Regions from separate parts of the Homo sapiens genome. Here region 2 is linked to region 1. Evidence: promoter capture Hi-C in 16 types of primary human blood cells and fetal thymus (Javierre and others, 2016). All regions are on one chromosome and are shown on one strand. Each heading gives the region's core, a stretch centred on a gene start or on the middle of the fragment in contact. The rest is flanking DNA. Distances are from core to core; before and after follow the strand shown.

Region 1 (6,671 bases), core at 1,413-3,912:
ACAATTGAAAACTATCACTATTGTTCTGCTACATTTCTGACACATGTGTTAAAGCAATAGTTTTCCAGGAATACAAAACAAAGGGAGACCCCCAGGGAACCAGGACAGAGGGGGCTTACTTAGAGTACAAAGATCAAGATGCAGCAGACATGATTATTTGAGATAAAGGAAGTAATTCCTCAGCTTGCTGCTTTTCCGGGTTTGGGAGAGGTGGGAACAGGAAGAGGGAGGCAACCAGATTTTTTCTGAAGGAGATTTACTAGTATAGACTTTCCTTTCAAATTTAACATGTTGAGTTAATCAAATAGATATTACAACTGTTCGTTATTAATATTTCAAAGGATCTCATTGTTACTGTACCCAATGCAGGTTAAAAATGTTAAAACTTGGGTCTGGGCTGGGCATGGTGGTTCATGCCTGTAATCCCAGCACTTTGGGAGGCCGAGATGGGTGGATCACCTAAGGTCAGGAGCTCGAGACCAGCCTGGCCAGCATGACAAAACCCCATCTTTACTAAAAAGACAAAAATTAGCCGGGCGTGGTCACGGGCACCTGTAATCCCAGCCACTGGGGAGGCTGAGGCAGGAGAATCACTTGAACCGGGGAGGCAGAGGTTGCAGTGAGCTGAGATCGCACCACTGCATTCTAGCCTGGGCAACAGAGTGAGACTCTGCCTCAATAATAATAATAAAAAAAAGGGTCCGAAGAATTTTGTTACTTTTACTTGAGCAGTATTCACCTACCAGAGGATGGCCTGTGTGGCATCTGGGTGTGATACCCAAGACAAAAGTATACAGAGCAGCACTGGGAGATGATTATTACAATGTAGTTAAATTCCAGGAAGAATGTTGCCTAAGAAATGGAAGGGAGCATGTCTATGTCTTTTTAAAACTTTAACATCTTTCTTTTATTCCTGCTGGTTCCAGTTAATATTGCTGTGTAAAAATCCACTTTAAAGGTGCAAAAGAACAACTATTTTATTATGCTGATGGATTCTGCGGGTGAGGAATTCAGAAAGGTCACAATGGGGATGGTTTATGTCTGCTTCCTAATGCCTGGGCCAAACTTTCTGGCACTATATAACAAGGGCCCCATTTTCTCCAGCTTCCAATAACATCTTCCTTAGCTCCCTTTAAGCCCTCATTGGCAGCTTCCTCAAGTCCTTTTAGACTCTTGTTAATACTTTGGATCCCTTCCTGCTCTTGCTGCTTCACCTAGTTCCAAAGCCAGTGCCACACGTTTTACTTTTATGATGTTATTATGTTATGTTTTGTTATAATATCCATCCTACTTCTAGGTAACAAAATCGGTTTCAGTTACTATTGCTATGTAATAAACTGTTATTCTTACTATGTAATAAACTTCTTCCCCTTGCCCCTCCCTAAGAAGTCAGTGGTAGAAGAGAAAGAAAAAAAGCCCCAAGTTACATAATAAAACCACATAGGTTATATTTATAATAATGGTATCAGTGGTTCTCGAACTTTTTGGTTTCAGCATACCTTTATACTCCCCAAAATAGTAGAGAACACTCCAAAGCTTTTGTTTCTGTGGGTTACATCTATTAATATTTACTATATTAAAAATTGAATACAAAGCTGAAATGTGGCTGGGTGCGGTGGCTCACGCCAGTAATCCCAGAACTTTGGGAGGCCAAGGCAGTAGGATCACCTGAGGTCAGGAGTTCGAGACCAGCATGGCAAACATGGTGAAAACCCGTCTCTACTAAAAATACAAAAAATTAGTCGGGTGTGTATCGAGCGCCTGTAATCCCAGCTACTCAGGAGTCTGAGGCAGGAGAATCGCTTGAGCCCGGGAGGCAGAGGTTGCAGTGAGCCGAGATCGTGCCATTGCACTCCAGCCTGGTTGACAGAGTGAAACTCCATCTCCAAAAAAAAAAGAAAAAAACCAACAAAAAACTGAAATGTTAAAAAGTTATTTAAAATAACAATAATAAACCATTATGTGTTAATATAATTAAGACATTTTAATGAAGAATAAATATTTTCCAAAAACAAAAAAATGTGGTAAGAAAAGTGTTATCTTTTGCATTAGTGTAAATTCCTCTATAGCTGGCTTAAAGAAGCCAGTTAGATTCTCATTTCTGCCTTTACATTCAGTTCGACGTGATGTTTTGGTGGAAGTATAAGGAAAATCCATCAGTCATGGGTCATCAAAACCCATGACTGGGTTTCGGTCTTACATCCTAGCCGATAAAAGACCGCCTACACTCCTTCCCCCTGGGCAAGGCTCGTGCCCCAACTCCTACAAGCAATGCAGGCTGAACCTTAGTTTTCCCTACCGTCTAACAGTGCTCTAAGGATTGAAAGAAAGTAACTCTTAAGCGACACCTAGATAAAATGATGGTCAGTTTAATTTCATTTCTCATCACAGTATTAGTCAATCAACCACTCAGATATAATCACATCCTGCGGGCTTATTCAGGGGCGGGGTGGGTAGAGATAAGCAATAGCGCATGCGCAGCTCAGAACGAAGCCCCAGGTGGAGTTAGCGCTGCACCTCTGAGGCCAGGTGAGCCGCTCCGAAGCGGAGGGCGGAGTCAGAGCCGCTTGTGGGAGGCTGCTTCCGACCACGTGGTACCCCGAATGACCAATGGGGAGACTTGATGTCAGCCCCGCTTCCTCACCCTGGCAACGGGCGGGTGACTACTTCCGGTGCAGTGAAGGCTCGGGGCTGAAGCGGGTGAGTGTCCCTCTTTCCCACGCTGTCCGCGCCGCTGCCGCCTCCGCGCTGCTGCCTCTGTGTGTGGGCCCCGTACGCTAGCTGGGACGTCCTCTCCGGGTCCGAGAGGGGGCGGCGCGCAGGACACCCCTTGCCCCGGGCGGGGCTAGAGGAGGGGGCCAGGATGTCCCTAGTTCCCTAGTCTTGGTCGCTCTAGGCGGCCCCGTCGTCCCCCTTCCCAGCCTCATCTCCGGCTTGGCGTCCTCGTGGCCACCGGGGAAGTACTGTCTGTATGTGGGGAGTTCTCGCAGTTCTTCACCCACTTTGCAGTCTCAGGCTGGAGATGTCTCAGAGTCCGAGGTTCGCAGACAGCCGAGAATGTGCGCCTTGTCCTGGGTGGCGGGTTGGGGGTAAGGCAGCCCCTTACTTAGTAATAGAGGCCTGATGAGAGTCCTGCGGGTCGTTAGCACTTACTACTCAGGGGGAGGAGGAGGAGGAAGAAGAGGAGGAGGAAAGGACCGAGAAGATGGAGCAGCTGGAGAGGAGGGGGGGAAAGCAGGAGCTAGAGATGTCCTGGAAATCGAGGGTATCGTGTTTCCGGAAGGAGAGAGTTCAACTTTCCTGGCTTCTGTAGGGGAGGGGAAGGAAAGGTGTGTTAGGGGCCATTAGATTGCTGAATTATTATTATTCTTTATTAGCGAAGGAATTTTTACTTATATTCTTAGGAGTTTAATAATTTATCTTTTTTGTTGTAAATAAAACTTTTCCCCACCACTTACAAAAAGCAGTGCTTACTAAGGAACATCTGGAAAATGCAGAAATAGTTATGAAGAGATCACCTATAGTTCTGCCAACCCAGCATTTTGATCTTTTTTCTAATATTTTATTCATATTAACCTATTTGTGATCATAATGTATGCGTGTAAAATACGGTTATAACTAAGAGGCATAGTTACATACATTGTGTTCATTGCACGGATAGATTGTCTTTTTTCCTCTTGAGAAAGTCTTATTAAGGTATTCATGCACCATAAAATTTATTCTTTAAAATTGTAAATTTCAGTGCTTTTTCTCATATCGCAAAGTTGTGCACCCATCACCACTATCTACTTTCAGAACATTTTCATCACCCCCAAAAGAAATCCTATACTCATGACAGTCACTCCCCATTAGATTCTCTGCTTTCTCTCCCAGGCCTTGTAACCACTAATCTACTTTCTGTATCTATGGATTTTCCTATACTGGCATTTCATATAAATGGAATCATAGAATATATGGCCTCACTTGTCTGGTGTCTTTCAGTTAGTATGTTTTCAAGGTTCATCAATGTCTGTGTATCAGTATTTCATTCTGTTTTATGGATGGGTAATGTTCCATTGTGTGAATATGCCACATTTTGCTTAACCATCATCGGTCGATGGACATTTAGGTTGTTTCTACTTTTTGGCTATTTTGAATAATTCTGCTATAAACATCTGTGTACAAGTTTTTGTATGGACATACGTTTTCAGTTCTCTTGAGTATATACCTAGAAGTGGAATTGGTGGGCATATGGTAACTCTATGTTTAACTTTTTGAGTGAGTGCCAAATGTTTTCCAAACTGGTTGCACCATTTTACATTCCCACCAGCAGGTTATAAGGGTTCTGATTTTTTCATATCCTTGGGAGCACTTATCTTTCTTTTTGGTTATAGCAGTCTTAGTGCTTATAAAGTGGTAGCTCATTGTAGTGTTGATTTGCATTTCCCTGATGGCTAATAATGTTGAGCATCTTTTAATGTGCTTATTGACCCTTTGTATATCTTTGGAGAAATGTCCATTTAATTCCTTTGCCCATTTTTAAATTGAATTGTCTTATATTAAAGTTGTATGAGTTCTTTCTATATTCTAAATGTAAGTCCCTTTCCAGATACATGATTTGCAATATTTTCTTGCGTTTTCTCCCATTTTATGGGTTGTCCTTTTACTTTCTTGAATGGTGTCCTTTATCTACTTAGAATTTTTTTTTCAAAGACTTGTCAAGTGCAATAGGGAGGATATTTAGAGTTAATTTTTCTGTATGATGTGAGGTAGGAGTTCAGTTTCATTCTATTGCATGTGGCTATCCAGTTCTAGCATCATTTGATGAAAGGACTGTCCTTTCCTCCATTGAATGGTAGAAACCATTTCAACACTCTTGTTGAAAATCAGTTGATCATAAAAGTGTAGGTTATTGTTTTCTTAACCGTTTTTCTGTATTGGACATTTAGGTTGCTCCCAGATTTTTGTTATTCTAAATTATCCTGTGTTAAACATGGTATAAAAGGCATAAAACCTTTTCTCTATTTAGTTATTTTGGTAGAAAGTTTTCTCAGAAGTGGAATTACTGGTTAGAAGATGAATTTAAGTATGTCCTGGAGTTCATTTAATGAGGCATTAAACCTTCAATATCACGATGTTAAAAGCAACAACACAAGGCTGGGTGTGGTGGCTCACGCCTGTAATCCCAGCACTTTGGGAGGCCCAGGCAGGCGGATCATTTGAGGTCAGGAGTTCAAGACCAGCCTGACCAACATAGTGAAACCCCGTCTCTACTAAAAATACAAAAAAAAAAAAAAAAAAATTAGCCCGGCATGGTGGCCTGCGCCTGTAATTCCAGCTACTCAGGAGGCTGAGACACAAGAATCGCTTGAACCTGGGAGGCAGAGATTGCAGTGAGTTCAGATCATGCCACTGCACTCCAGCCTGGGTGACAGAGTGAGACTCTGTCTCAAAAAAAAAAAAAAAAAAAAAAAGCAACAACACAATTATTTATTCATGAGTTGTAATAGCTTAAGGGCTGGATTTCTATCAAAGCCCTTTGCTGTAAGATGGATGAATTCCATGACTTACTTCCTTTTTCAACTGCTTCTTAAAGAATAAGCAAACCTACGGTGAAAAACTTTAACACCACAGCAACAGGACGTGGTAGTTTTCAAAGTGGTGTAAGAAAAAAAAACAGTGTCATCACATACAGTAGGAAAATAAAACCATCTTTTAGAGAGATGAGGCAAGATTTAGACCTTAAATTAGTGCCATGAAAGTCCCTGCAGAGCGTGTTTTGGTTAGGCCAAGAGTGAGGTGGACCTAGATTGAGCTATCCATAAAACTTGTGGCTATAGGTAAGACAGAAGATAAAGTTAGGAATCATCTGATTTGCTGAGAGGATAGTTTTGAAAGGTTGGCAGTAGATGAAGTTGCTGAAGGTTGGCCGGGAGTGGTGGCTTACACCTGTAATCTCAGCAGTCTGGGAGGCTGAGGTGGGTGGATCACCTGAGGTCAGGAGTTCGAGACCAGCTTGGCCAACATAGTGAATTCCTGTCTCTACTAAAAATACAAAAATTAGCCAGGCATGGGGGTGCGTGCCTTTAGTCCTGGCCACTCAGGAGGCTGAGGCAGGAGAATTGTTTGAACCCGGGAGGCAGAGGTTGCAGTGAGTTGAGGTTGCGCCACTGCACTCCAGCCTAGGCAACAGAGCGAGACTGTGTCTCAAAAAAAAAAAAAAAAAAGAAATTGCTGAAGGAAACATTTGCAGTTGGGGTCAGAGGTGAGTTATGAAGAACTAGGGTAGTAGATTTGTGTGTTGCCAAGGAAAGCAGGTGATCAAGAGAATCAAAGGTTGTAAGCAGAAGATTAAGAAAATGCCATTGGGTTAAGTAACTTGGGAAAGATACAATTTATGGGGAGCAAGACTTTTTTTTCTTTTTTTTCGAACAGCTTAATAAGATCAGTTTACCCATTTAAAATGTACCCAGTGTATCAATTTACCCATTCAAAGTGTACAATTCAGTGGTATTTAGTGTATTCACAGAGTTGTGCAACCATTACCAAATTCAATTTTAGAACTTTTTTTTATTTTTATTTTTTTGAGATGGAGTTTTGCTCTTGTTGCCCAGGCTGGAGTGCGATGGCGCGGTCTCTGCTCACTGCAACCTCTGCTTCCTGGGTTCAAGCGATTCTCCTGCCTCAGCCTT
Region 2 (6,671 bases), core at 2,023-4,522, 530 kb after region 1:
ACTCATCAATCGTGTAGACATGAGCATGTTAGAGTTTAGCTGAGTTTGCACGGATCTCACTTCCTACACTTTGAGCCTTGATTTCTGACATCCCCCAGTCTTAGAAGTTTCAAAACTTTAAAGCAGTGGGACAATTAAGCCTCTTTTTCAAAATATTTGGGGATCTCTGAACACAATAATAGCTCACAGTTATTGAGCCCTATCTGTGTGCCAGGCACCCTTCTAAGCTCAGTTTTTGTCATACCTCATTTAATCCTCATAAGAACCATCTGGAGGAAGTACTAGTAGCATTTCCATTCTGTGGTTCAGGAAACTGAGACACAGAGGAGTTGAGTAAACTGCCTGAGGTCTATCATAAGCAACAGAATCAGGATTTGAACCCATGTAGTCTGTACTGTAATCCACATTTGTAACACTACCCTTTGCTGCCTTATGTGAAAGCCATTGTCCCTTCTTCTCAAATGAAATGGTGATGTAGAACAAGGGAGGATGAATGTCTGGCAGAATAATCTTGTTAACTTCTAATGTCAAATATAATCAATAGTGACAATTCATTTATCTGCTATCAGAGGTTGATGACTGGGCTTGGGTTGAGAGGTCATTTAGAAGAACTTGCCTACCAACCTAGCTGTTTGGTATATATGTACATGTGTGTGTATTATTTTGTTTTTAACATTTAAGCCTAGCAAGAAAAAAATGGCCGAGGTTTATGGGCATATTTTTTAGACTGATTATATTTGTACTGTGTATTTTTTGCATTTCCTAAGCTTTCCCTTTTTTGAGAAGATGAAACTGAAATACTTAGGTCCAGAATCCAATCTTAATTTTAAAAGATGGAGATGCTACTTAACTGCTGGCTTGACTGTTATGCAATGTTCACCAGGCATTAGAAACACCATTTAAAATGCTCACAAAAGGTGACATCTAGCAAAGCTAAATCTTTGAGGTCAGGAGTTCGGGACCAACATGGTGAAACCCAGTCTCTACTAAAAATACAAAAAATTAAGTGGGTATGGTGGTAGGCACCTCTAATCCCAGCTACTTGGGAGGCTGAGACAGGAGAATTGCTTGAACCCAGGAGACGGATGTTGCAGTGAGCCGAGATCACACCACTGCACTTCAGCCTGGGTGACAGAACGAGACTCTGTCTCAAAGTGAAAAAAAAAGATAAATCTAAAGCTGCATAGTCAGTACTGGTTTTGACCACTACAGACAAAGCTCTCAAGAAGCGTATGTGCATTGGCTTATCACTCACTGGTCTAGGCTCAAATTAGCTGCAGTTCTTGGTCTCAATGGAGAGCCCTTCAACTTTGTCTTTGAGTCTCCAGTCTGTGCTCAGATCTGTTTTAGGGCTTCCCCCAAAGCTGAGTGAATGCATTAGTGGCTGCATTAACTTTTCCACACTGCAACTCTGCCACATTCAATGAGGCCACAAGATAGTTCTTTGAAATAGAGTTGTGAATATATTTGTGTGTGTGTGTTTCTTTTTAATTATCAAGTACATTTAAGCAAACCACATTTAAATAAAGGTGACTTCCTATGACTTGGAGTGGGATAGGACAAGTCAGAATTTGATAGTGCAATATCAGAACCTCATCTCTGAGAGGCCCCTGTTAGCATGGCACCTTCCAAGCTGTCCTCAGCATCCACCCACTAGAGACTGGGTATCGGGTCCTGAAATTCAGAAAAAGCATGTGACATGAATAAGATGCTGCATACTAGCAAGATCTCTTGGAAATCCAAACAGTAGTGTTAATACACTATTTGACTTCCTTTAACATCCTTAAGAAAACATCACATAAATAATGAAAAAATAAAGGAAATATATAATGAAATAATGAAGAATTAAGGGAATAATTCTTTATTCAAATATATAAAGCCTTAGGTATTAGATATAGTATGCTACCTGTATGCTACCAATAATATCTGGCATGTTATCAGAACCAACAGATACAAAAAAAAAAAAAAGGTCATTTTCCTTTCCTTTCTTTAATCACTAGCCAGAAACTAACTCTTTAGGTGCTTTGTCAGTTTAAATGTGGAATTAATCAATTTCACCAAGATCGTAAGGACCCGTGAAAGAAGAATTGGAAGAATGGTGGATCTTTGTTTTATTTCATGCCACTTTCCTTTTCTTTGTTTTTTTCTCTTTTTATCTGCAAAACAGGCCTCCTGATATCCTGGCATCACTATTGTGTTCTTTTCACATAATATTACCTAATTGACAAATTTACAGAGCTTTCTTCAGTTCTTGTTCTACTTGACCGTGGGCAGCATTTGACACAATTCAACACACACTTATCTTTTAAGCTTCTTCCCTCTGCCATCTGGACACCATTTTTCATTAGTTTTTCTTATTCCTTTTCCCACTATTTCTAGTATTCTTTGTGAGCACTATTTCCTCTTTTAACCCATTTTCCTTTTATGTTTTCTCCTTGACTTTTTTTTCTATTTTCTCATTAATCTTCCAGTGGTTCTCAACCTTCAGGATGAATAGAAATAATCATCTGGGTAACCAGTTAAAATGCAGATTCTCGAAATTTCTACTCAGAGATTTTGAATCAGTTGGTGTGGGTCAGGGCCCAGACGTTTGTATGCTCAGTATCCCTGGGGTCTGGAACCCATAACGCAAAGCGAGACCTCTACTTTGATCGATATAATGTTTTTCTTACCATTTTTTAGACAAATATGGGAACCTCAAACCCATTTCCAAGATGGAACTTGCTGCAGACTACATTACTGGCCCATTTTCCACCTCATTTGAGTTCCTTCTTCTGTGACTTTGCAGTCCTTTCCTCTCACCAGTGGAGAACGTTTCCCTGCCCCTTGGCTTGGGTTCAGCCAAGTGACTTGCTTTGGCTAACGGAATACAGAGAAGAGACAGTTTGCTAGTTCCAAACCTAGATCTGAAGAGGTCTTATGCATTTCTACTCTTTCTCTTGTGCTTCTGCTAGTGACAGGAAAAGAAAATGCCCAGGCTAGCCCCCTGGTCTCAGGTTGGCCCTGGGAGAGGATTAATGGCACGTAGGGCACGGTTACCCCAGCTCACCTGCAGCCTCCAGTGAGAAATACTTGCTGATTATTATTGGCAACTGAGGTTTGTTCCAGTAATAGTTGCCTAATACAATCTCGAATGGCCCTTCCTGATATAGCCTCTGCCTGTCTTTCTGACATAGTTTGTCAACATCCCCCAACACACAGCCTCCTGATTCTCCTCCATGCTTTTTTTCCTCTTGTCTGTCTGGAGAATGCTCACTCATCACTGAAGTCTTAACCCAAACTCTTCTCGTCAATAATACAGAACAGAGTTAAGGGCTTCCTCCTTGGTGTCCCTCCCGACTTGTCTATTATTTTTTAAGCACTCATCGCGATGTTCGTTTTTTGCTTTCATGTCTCTCTTCCATGAAGTCAGGGACCTCGTCCTCATCCTTCTCGCCCTAGTCTTAGTACACAGTACTAGGCTCAATCATTACCTAATAATTGCATCAATGTTCTTTTCCTGGAGAAAGAACGTAGACTAGGAGACAGGCAAGGAAATGCCACTTGTGGATAGAAATAAGAATTATTAGAAAAGATAAATATCTCCTACCTGCAATATATTTTCAAAAATTGATGGTATCTTTTGTTTTGTTTTAAAACGAGCAGATAGATATTTTTTGAACGTTCCCAAGAGCGTGTTTTAGCGTACATTATTAACCACTAGATGGCAGCCAAGGAAACAAAAAGCGGCTTTCTTGTTTTGAAATTTTCAGTTAATAAACTTTCACCTATTTGGGTATCTTCTTTTCACTTTTGCTTTAGGCAGAGTTCCTAAAATATTGAAGAAAACCTTGCGACTTGGAGAACCAGTCTTCCTTTCCTATAATCTTTTATTTATTATGTCTATAATATTTTATACTATTATTCATCTTCTATAACCAAATCCTCTGAATGGAATAAAGAGATGGTGAATAAAAGCATTCCTGTTAAGAATGTTTTCCCTTTGGGACTTGGAATTTATAAGTTTTTGTGCAGAAATGATAGATGGTAAATGTGGCTCCGACGACACTGGAATAAAAACTAAACCCAAGTGAACTAAATTAGTAGTCATTTTAAAATGAATATTCTAAGATTTGGAAAAAATATGTAAATTCAGAGGCCACTGTGTTGTTTTTGCACCAAAAAGGTCACATAAACACGATGGATTAATCCAGAATTTTAAAATGAACACCACGAGTCCTAAAGAGAAGCTTTTCTCCATTTTTAAAAATAACACGCAAGACATGAAAACAAGACTTTCGGTGGCCGCGCTGTGTTTTATACATTTTGCGGAGGGAAGCAAGAGGAATCCCAGTCTTTTCCAAGTCAGGGACTTCGTTGTGTTTGACTTGAATGGAGATAGCCATGGGAGTGGCTTTTGGTGGAGTTCACAGCCCCCCAGGGTCAACACACCAGGATTCTTGAGCAGAAGGAAAATCAATTAGCCATTTTTTTTTTCCTCCTGCAGGGGATGAACTCTCCGACCTCTTAGAATCACAGAAGCTACACAGGAAAAGGGAAGACTGCGCTCGGCCTGGATTCTGGCCCCACCTTAGCCCCTGGCATGTTCCTCTCTGGTTCTCTGTCGTTCTACAAGGCTACAGTGCGTGGGTTACAAACCCGCAGATTTAAGGGATTGTGATTTATGTTCTGTAGGCCTTATGGGATTCTACCGTTTCAGCAAGCTGCATGCTTACATCTGCAAGGGATTTTTTTTAAAATAATGATGCTTATTAAGGCACTTACACTTGCATTATGTTAATCCCCATGACACCTCTGAGAAGTAGGGAAGGACTGTTAGGTTTTTGTTTTTTGCAGATGAAAAAAACAATGCCAGAAGTTTTGTTAAAAAAAGTTCCCCAAACAAAAGCCCTCCAAACAAACCTGTTCTTGTTGATTTAATAAGAAAATTCTGAGATACGGAAATTAAAATAAAAGTATAATTTTGACACCATCTAGGCACACACACACGGTGCTATGGTACAGTGTGGTTCTTGAGTCACAATGACACACCACGGACTTAAAATGACCACTATTTGAGCATTAATAATGCCTTGGTGTTACTCAGCACAAAATTTGACTCACTAAGGAGGTTTCTTTTGGTTTGTAGAGGACTAAAAGGATTGAGCTGGTTTGGTGGTGTATTAGTCCATTTTCACGCTACTGATAAAGACATACCTGAGACTGGGTAATTTATAAAGAAAATGAGGTTTAATGGACTTACAGCTCCACGTGGCTGGGGAAGCCTCACAATCATGGCGGAAGGGGAAAGGCACATCTTACGTGATGGCAGACGAGAGAGTGGGAGCCAAGTGAAAGGGGAAAACCTTTATAACACCATTAGATCTCGTGAGACTTATTCACTACCACGAGAACAGTATAGGGGGAACCGCCCCCATAATTCAATTATCTCCCACTGGGTCCCTCTCACAACACATGGGAATTATGGGAGCTACAATTCAAGATGAGATTTGGGTGGGGACACAGCCAAACCCTATCAGATGGTTATAAATATCTAGCTATAAGAAATGAAAATGTGGAGACCATGTTCTGGTGCCTAGTGCAAAACAGTCCTAGCCTTTTGCCAGCATAGTTAACTGGATTACTGAATTACTAAATACTTGGAATAATCCAACTATGTGTCCAAAGCTACAATCAGGCTTAGGTGACAAATGCTCTTAGCCAGCCTGAGCCTGTGCCTGTTCTTACATTCAAAACCCTAATAATAGCAAGCCTCCTGGATCTGGAAAAGCTGAAGATGCAGTTTTGTGAAAAGAAAGCACAAGGCAGCAAGGGACCCAGAATCTTCCAAGAAGGTAGGGCATAGTTCATAGTGTGTCTTCCGGAAGAAAAAACCCAGACATTTAGCTTTCCTCTTATTTCACTGTCAAATGGCAACACTGTTGCATACATCAGGGCTTCCTCCTTTCTCTTCTCTTGTGCAGCTGTGGGTTTTCCAAAGGCCTAGATCTACTGTGAGATCTTCACTCACTGCCCATTTCTCAGTGCCCCTGCTCCCTCTCCTATGGATCCAGGAATGCGAGATTGGGGCTGAAACTCAGCCTCCACTTTCCATATGCTCCTGGTGTGGTTGGTGGTTTATTCTTTGTCATCCATGACCCCACAAAAACTACTTTCATCTGCATTTAGAGACACCCTTTGGTTCCCTACTCTCTGGGTTGCTCAGCAAAAATATTTTTGTGTCTGCCTATCAGCGGCACTCATATTTTGTAAATGAAAAGATGGATGGATGATGAATGAATGTCACTTTTTACTGTTCCTAGTCCCTTACCCCCCATCTCTATATCCACTCCTCTTATTCCTTTGGACATGCAGTTTCATCCTTCAAGATTCAGCCCAAATGTGAAATAGTAAGTAGCGGGTATTTAAATAGCTATGAATGATGACAAAGAAATTATTCTTACTTTTAAGATGGTGGTGGGGAGGACTGTCCCCCTTTTTTAGCCTTTCGGCGGAAACAAAATCACAATGACCAATTTTGTCAAGCAAAACAATTATTTTTTGAAAGTCACATTTATGGGGTCTGTTCTCCATGAGATCACAGAGGGCATTTTTGACTGAAAATCTGGTGCCTTTAAGTTTTATAAAGCAGATTGTGCAAGGACTTTGGCTCAGGTTTTCTGGATGGCTCT

What was found. Contacts are between HindIII fragments. The CHiCAGO score rates a contact against its expected background, and 5 or more counts as called.
Region 2: a fragment that was not itself captured here is called in contact with the fragment with the promoter of TASP1 in region 1 in 1 of 17 cell types (activated CD4 T cells); the score reaches 5.7 in activated CD4 T cells.

Annotation. Positions count from the first base shown.
Region 1 is chr20:13,634,923-13,641,593 of GRCh38, reverse strand. It overlaps TASP1 (taspase 1), which reads left to right and starts at 2,662. Exons shown (of 14, transcript NM_017714.3): 1 at 2,662-2,700. RefSeq lists a silencer at 2,762-2,911 and enhancers at 3,102-3,191, 2,805-3,305. The HindIII fragment of the contact is 10,129 bases long and covers 1,539-6,671 here.
Region 2 is chr20:13,103,073-13,109,743 of GRCh38, reverse strand. All of the region lies in intron 6 of SPTLC3 (serine palmitoyltransferase long chain base subunit 3), which reads right to left. It also overlaps a transcript of TASP1 not described here. Among named protein-coding and RNA genes, the nearest start is that of SPTLC3, 97 kb to the right of the region's middle. The HindIII fragment of the contact is 1,919 bases long and covers 2,313-4,231 here.